Regions from separate parts of the Homo sapiens genome. Here region 1 is linked to region 2. Evidence: promoter capture Hi-C in 16 types of primary human blood cells and fetal thymus (Javierre and others, 2016). All regions are on one chromosome and are shown on one strand. The core of a region is centred on a gene start or on the middle of the fragment in contact, and the rest is flanking DNA. Distances in the headings are between cores, read along the strand shown.

Region 1 (3,419 bases), core at 770-3,269, 1.3 Mb before region 2:
TAGTCCTGCTGTTTCCTACAGATCCTTCCTCCACTCACAGAGAAGTGCAAAAACCTAATCTAAAAGCTTCCTCCTTTAAACTATTCTAGAGTCACGGTGGTTGGCATTTCAACAGCTCCACATAAAAAGAGATTTCATAAAATACTCTTAAGAAAATAATTGTACATTGTCCTTTGTTTCTCATCTCCTTTAATACTTTTCTCAGATATGGCCACCATAATTAAATGCAATATTCTGGATGTCAAACTAAAATTCACAGCTTTGATAAATATTAGGCGATTAAGCTATTTATAAAATATATAATTTGAAAATCTGGCATTTCACGTACTATGATTATTTCTTCTCTGTGAAGACTAAGTGCTTAGCCACATGGAAGGCACTGCCAGGAAGGGAAGTTAATAAGGATGTTCACTTGTGAGTTTCAGCTATTTCCGCATTTCGAATGAGCTGGAGACAAAGTCTCCGTGTGAAGAACAAAGAGAGGAAGAGGGAGAACAAGAAAGAAGAAAAAAGCCCTACAAGCAAAGTGATTACATTGTGATTTTGAAAATGAGTCTCTTCCTCTACGCATCAGTTTCCCTGCAAATCTGGGAGCTGGAGTGGATTCTAATGCTAATGGGGTGTCTCATGGAACAGCTCAGAGGGGGTGTCCTACCAGGAGGTCGACCATGTTGGGCTTGTTGTTCCTCAGTGTCTTCACAGCGTGAAAGACATCCACGGTTCTCTGGTGCCGGAGCATCTCACATACGATGCTGATGGCGCAGAACGTCCCACTGCGGCCTCCCCCGTTCCTGTCGTGAAAAAGATCAGATGACTGCACTCGGTCTGTCTTTACACTGCATCTTGCAAACACCTGTGGAAACAAGCTGTCTAAACCCTGGGGAACAGTAACAACAAAGGGCTCTGAGGCCGGGGGACCTCTTACCTGGGCAGATTCTTTTAATTAAAGCAAACAGAGCAAGCCATCCGCAGTGTTTGGCCACAGGTCACCTGACTGCAGAGCCTTTCCCAGCTCACCTCAGCCCTGGTCACATTCTCTGATACAGCAATTCATCGATAAGGGCCCATGGTAGAAAATTTTCAATGAACCTTATTTAGGTTCTGCCAGGAAAATTGCTGTGACAAGTACGGGTTACGTTCAAAGACGTATCTGGCCTTTAAAAACATCCATTAGCAGCTGGGCGCAGTGACTCACACCTGTAATCCCAGCACTTTGGGAGGCCAAGGTGGGTGGATCACGAGGTCAGGAGATCGAGACCTTCCTGGCTAAACACGGTGAAACCCCATCGCTACTAAAAAATACAAAAAAAATTAGCCGGGCGTGGTGGCGGGTGCTTGTAGTCCCAGCTACTCGGGAGGCTGAGGCAGGAGAATGGCGTGAACCCGGGAGGTGGAGCTTGCAGTGAGCCGAGATTGTGCTACTGCACTCCAGCCTGGGCAACAGAGCGAGACTCCCTCTCAAACAACAACAACAACAACAACAACAAATCCATTGGCATTTCATTATTTATCTATAAAACATAGAGGCTCTTTTTAAAGAAAACTTTTTACTATGAACCCATGTTAGATGTGCAGAAATGTAAAAATAGCATAGAGAATGCATATCCAACTTCCCTGATATGAACACCTTACTTGCCCACAGCGCATTATGCAAACCAAGAACGTGATGCTGGGACAATACTATTAACTAAACCACAGACTGTAGTCACATCTTACTAGTTCCTCCACGAATGTCCTTTTTCTGGTCCAGGATCCAGTCGTGCATGTAGTTGTCCTGTCTCCTTAGTTTCCTTCAGTCTTTCCTTGTATTTCCTGACCTTGACACTTTTGAAGAGCACTGATCAGTGATTTGTAGAATATAAAGAATGTAGAACACAGAAGTAGAAAGTAGCTGTCGTCCCCAGCCGCAATCTGAGAAGTCATCACAAACTATAACATGTAGACCATCCCTTCATTTGGGTTTGTCTGATGTCTTCTCATGACTGGAAACAAGGCCGTGCATTTCGGTAAGAAAACCAGAGAGGGGATGTTCCCTCCTCCCAGGGGTTCAGGATGTCCATCTGTCTTATTACTGGTGATGTTAACTTGCTCACTTGTTAAGATGGTGTCTGCCAGATTTTCTCACCATAAAGTTATCATCTTTCTCTTTGCAGTCAATAAATATCTGGGAGGAAGATATTTTGGGACTACGCAAATATTTTGTTTCTCGCCCACTGATTTGAGCATCCGTTGGTGGATCTTGTCTGCAACAATTAATTATCACTGTGGTGTTTGCCTAATGGTGATTTCCTGTTTCCCTCTCTTTCAACATTCTACACTAAGAAAGAGCTGTCTCTTCTTCCCTATTATTGTTTATTTATTTTATGATTTGTTTATTTCAGTGTGAGCTTATACATAATAATTTTATTCTATCAGCTAAAATCCAAGGGTACTAATATTGATTTTGTTCACATTGTTCCAGCTTTGGCCAGTGGGAGCTCCGTCAGGCTGGCTCTTTTGTTCTTTTCTGACAAGTCCCCAGCCTGTTTTATTTCTTTACTCTCTGCAACCACATAATGGTCCAGGCTCATCCCGCACTATCCCTGCATCAACTCTGCAGTCACTCTCTCCTCAAGGAGATAAGGGACCTTTTTTTTTTTTGAGATGGAGTCTCACTCTGTCACCCAGGCTGGAGTGCAGTGGCGCGATCTTGGCTCACTGCAAGCTCTGCCTCCTGGGTTCACGCCATTCTCCTGCCTCAGCCTCCCGAGTAGCTGGGACTACAGGCACCTGCCACCATGCCCGGCTAATTTTTTTGTATTTTTTTAGTAGAGATGGGGTTTCACCGTGTTAGCCAGGATAGTCTCAATCTCCTGACCTAGTGATCTGCCCGCCCCGGCCTCCCAAAGTGCTGGGATTACAGGTGTGAGCCACCGCGCCCGGCCATGGGACCTTTTTATTTTTAAACACAGTACACAGTATAACTATCATACCTAAAATAATAACATTACTGTTTTAAAATTATCAAATTTCTAGTCAGTGTTCCAGTTTCCCAGATTGTTTCTTACAGCTGCTTTTTTAAAAAATCCACTCTCAGATTGTTTCTTACAGATGCTTTTTAAAAAATCCACATCTAGGCAAAGTCCACAGATTGGATTTGGTTGGTATGTCTTGCAAATTTATTTTACTCTGTGAGTTCCTCTTTGCTCTCTCTTTTTTCTTGAGAATTTATTTGTTGAGGAAACAAGTTCATCTGTGTCCTGTAGAGAGTCCCACATCCTAGATTTTTCTCATTCATCACATCTCTGTGATATTATTTAATATGCTGCTTTCTAACTCTGTATTTCCTGTAAATCGGTAGGTAGTTCCAGGGCTTGGTAAGAATTCAAGATTGATTTATTTATACAAGGATACTTAAAGTATACTTTCATTAGGAAGCA
Region 2 (3,327 bases), core at 775-3,274:
AGGATATGGGGAGACCCAGAATATGGGGACACCCCTTGTGATTCCTCCAGTGTGGTTTTTTTTTTTTTTTTTTTTGAGACGGAGTCTTGCTCTGTCGCCCAGGCGGGGGTGCAGTGGCGCTATCCTGGCTCACTGCAAGCTCCGCCTCCCGGGTTCACACCATTCTCCTGTCTCAGCCTCCCGAGTAGCTGGGACTACAGGCGCCTGCCACCGCCCCCCGGCTAATTTTTTGTATTTTTAGTGGAGACGGGGTTTCACCGCGTTAGCCAGGATGGTCTCGATCTCCTGACCTCAGGTGATCCACCCGCCTCGGCCTCCCAAAGTGCTGGGATTACAGGCGTTAGCCACCACCTCCAAGTTTGCTTTTGATCAACATCCTCTGTGATTTCAGCGTGGTGTTGTAAAGGACTATGGACTAGAAACCAGACATGGGGTCTAGCTCTAGACCAGACATTTGCTGACACTGAGAACTCACTTCCTTATCTCCTGGCAAGCATCTCATAGAGTTGTGAAGATCCCAAAAGATAATCTATATGAATGCTAGGTCTGTGTGTGCAGTTATTTCAGTGCATAAATGCTTATAATTCTGCATTTTAATAGCTATGTGCCTAATACTATAATATTTGATCATTTATTAAATACTAAGTTTACTTATTTAATAATTACTTAGTAACATTTTAATAGTTACGAACGTCTGCATTTTAAATTTAGTACTGTATGGAGTATTCACTGAACTATATTGCATCCTTTTAAAACGGCCAAACTATCATTTTGTTCCATGATTTTTAAAAATTAATCGATGGCTAAGTACTATAACTAAGTTCTACTCACTAGATGTGTAAGGAAGTGTCCTCAGAAAAACAGGAATTGATAGAGTTGTCAAATAGATTCACACAAGTGAGAGGAAATTATCTTCCTATCAAGAAAAAAAAACCCTGCAAAATAAGATGGTGGGATGATAATGAGATATTGTCCCTGTATATTTATATTGAGAAAATGTGAAATCTACAAAGTGTTATGAATACCTTTTTTTTCTTTTTTGAGACAGAGTCTCGCTCTGTCGCCCAGGCTGGAGTGCAGCTGGTGTGATCTCAGCTCACTGCAACCTCCCACTCCCGGGTTCAAGCAATTCTCCTGCCTCAGCCTCCCAAGTAGCTGGGACTGCAAGCGCGTGCCACCACACCCAGCTAATTTTTGTATGTTTTTAGTAGAGACGAGGTTTCACCATGATGGCCAGGCTGGTTTCGAACTCCTGACCTCAAGTGATCCACCCGCCTCGGCCTCCCAAAGTGCTGGAATTACAGGCGTGAGCCACTGCACCCATCCAATACTTTTGATAGAAAAAAAAAATCAGAGGAAATTAAAAATTCTTTATCGGGGACCAGACATAGTTTTAAAATAATAATAATTATAATAACAGCAGTTGAAGTTGCGTGTCAGGAGCGCGTCCTCTCTCTCCAGCAGTAAGGGTATCTAATTATAATAATTAAGTCCAAGTGACCTTGCCTTCTTTAGGCAAACAAAGTCGGGAACAAGTTGCAACTCATTTTCAGAAAAAATCCTCAAGTCCTCTGCCCACGGCGGAAAGGGCGGCGGGTCGGCCGAGCCTGGGTGGCTTCCCGAGGGGTCGCCTCTCGCCCAGCTCCTGGCAGGGGCGCGTGGGTCCTGGCCCGGGGACTGCAGGGCCGCGGCGGGGCGGGCAGGGTCAGCTGGGCACATAGTTTCTCGGAATCCACCCTCCCGGACCCCCGCAGCCCAGTTTCTCCTCCCCTCAGCCCACCTTCTCTGCCCACCTCCTACCCGGAGCCGGGGAGGCGGCCGCGGTCAGCCCGGCCTCCCCGACTTGGGGTCCGCGTGCGCCGGGACCCAGAGGCCAAGCTGGGCGCCCCCGGGGGAGGGGTCTGGGTGGCGGGGCCAAGCCGGGGCGGGACGGGGCGGGGCGGGGCGCAGCCGAGGGGTGTGTCCGAGGGCGGCTGGAGGGAGGGGCGGCAGGACTCCAGGAGCGGCGGGGCCAGGGCAGCGCGGACTCGCGTCCCGTGGAGCGTTCCAGGCGGGCGCGCGGCTTTCTCCCCAGACCCACCGAGTGGCGGCGGAGGCGAGATGCGCGGGGGCGTGCTCCTGGTCTTGCTGCTGTGTGTCGCCGCGCAGTGCCGGCAGAGAGGTGAGCCCGGCCCGGGTCCTAGGGTCCCTGTCCCCCGCAGGCGGGCGGGCGGGGGCGGCCGCGGACAAAGCCCGTCGCGTTGGGGCTGCTGGAGTCCGGGCGCGCATCCTGATCCACCTCGGAGTGGGTGTCTCGGCCACGTGGGTCTCCCGCGCTTGCCGGGGAGGGCTGGATGGGGACGCCGCTCCTGCCGGACGCTGCCCGCTCTTTGCAGGCTTAGGCTTTAACCTCCTCGGGCTTTGGGGTTAAAGCCCAGCCTCGCCTCTGGCTTTTGCGGGACTTCGCGACCCAGGAGCGCCATCTACGCGAGCAGTGCTGGGGGTGGCGGGAGCGGGGCGCCCGGAGCGGGGCGCCGGGGGTTGCTTTTAGTGCCCCGGCTGCGCGGGCGGGGGTGGCGGGGCTGTTGGCCGGGCGCGGGGGATGAATGGAGAAAGAGCTCTCCCGAGTCGCCCTCATTGTCCGGCTGCGCAAGCTGGGTCGCGGCGGCCGGGAAAGGGCGGATTCCTCGGGGCCCCTGGCAGCCAAGCGGGCTAGTGGGGAGAGACGCGGCGAGAAGGGCGCCCCTAGCCAGCCGTCCCGGGCAGGGGGACCCGCAGGCGGCGTCCAGGGCACTGATGCGCCTTCCCGACCCGCGCTTTTTGTGCAATAGGCGAAGTGGCCAAACCCGCTCATTCACTGCGCGGGATTGACCGTGGGCGCGCCGGGGCGAGGGACCAGCGGAGAAGGGAGCACCTTGCATGCGCGTTGCAAGGATTGAGAAGAGAAACTCAGAGCGAATTTTCATTTTCTGTTTTTGCGGGCGGGCGGAAAGAGAGAGAGAGAGAAGAAAGAAAGAGAGAGAGAAAGAGAAAAGAAAGAGAGAGAAAGAAAGAAAAAGAAAGAAAGAATTCTTTTCCCTTTTGGGGGACAACCCTAGTCACCCACGCCACCCCTAGAGCTGTCTTCGCAGCGTGGCTTCGTGTTGGCTAGGCAGTCACAAATATTTGTTGAAAACATCTTAATGTATGCAGCACATGACAATGGGCGTATTCCCACGAATATAAACTTCATTAAAAAAAAATTCGAGTCAAAAGTAGTGGGCGGAATTTGCAGTGCCCTCGTGGGAAACGTGTGTTTGGGCATTGTGCTGAGTTGTGAGCTCTGCAGAAACGCGACCATCTCATTCA

The links. The method cuts DNA at HindIII sites, captures the fragments that hold promoters and counts their contacts. A CHiCAGO score of 5 or more calls a contact.
Region 1: a contact is called between a fragment that was not itself captured here and the fragment with the promoter of LAMA1 in region 2, in 1 of 17 cell types (M2 macrophages). The highest score is 5.1, in M2 macrophages.

The regions. Positions count from the first base shown.
Region 1 is chr18:8,391,848-8,395,266 of GRCh38, reverse strand. It overlaps PTPRM (protein tyrosine phosphatase receptor type M), which reads right to left. Exons shown (of 33, transcript NM_001105244.2): 32 at 656-791. It overlaps LOC124904241 (a long non-coding RNA gene), which reads right to left and starts at 643. Exons shown (of 2, transcript XR_007066275.1): 1 at 1-643. The HindIII fragment of the contact is 3,901 bases long and covers 69-3,419 here.
Region 2 is chr18:7,116,494-7,119,820 of GRCh38, reverse strand. LAMA1 (laminin subunit alpha 1) reads left to right here and starts at 2,024. Exons shown (of 63, transcript NM_005559.4): 1 at 2,024-2,161. The coding sequence starts at 2,101. The HindIII fragment of the contact is 7,316 bases long and covers 1-3,327 here.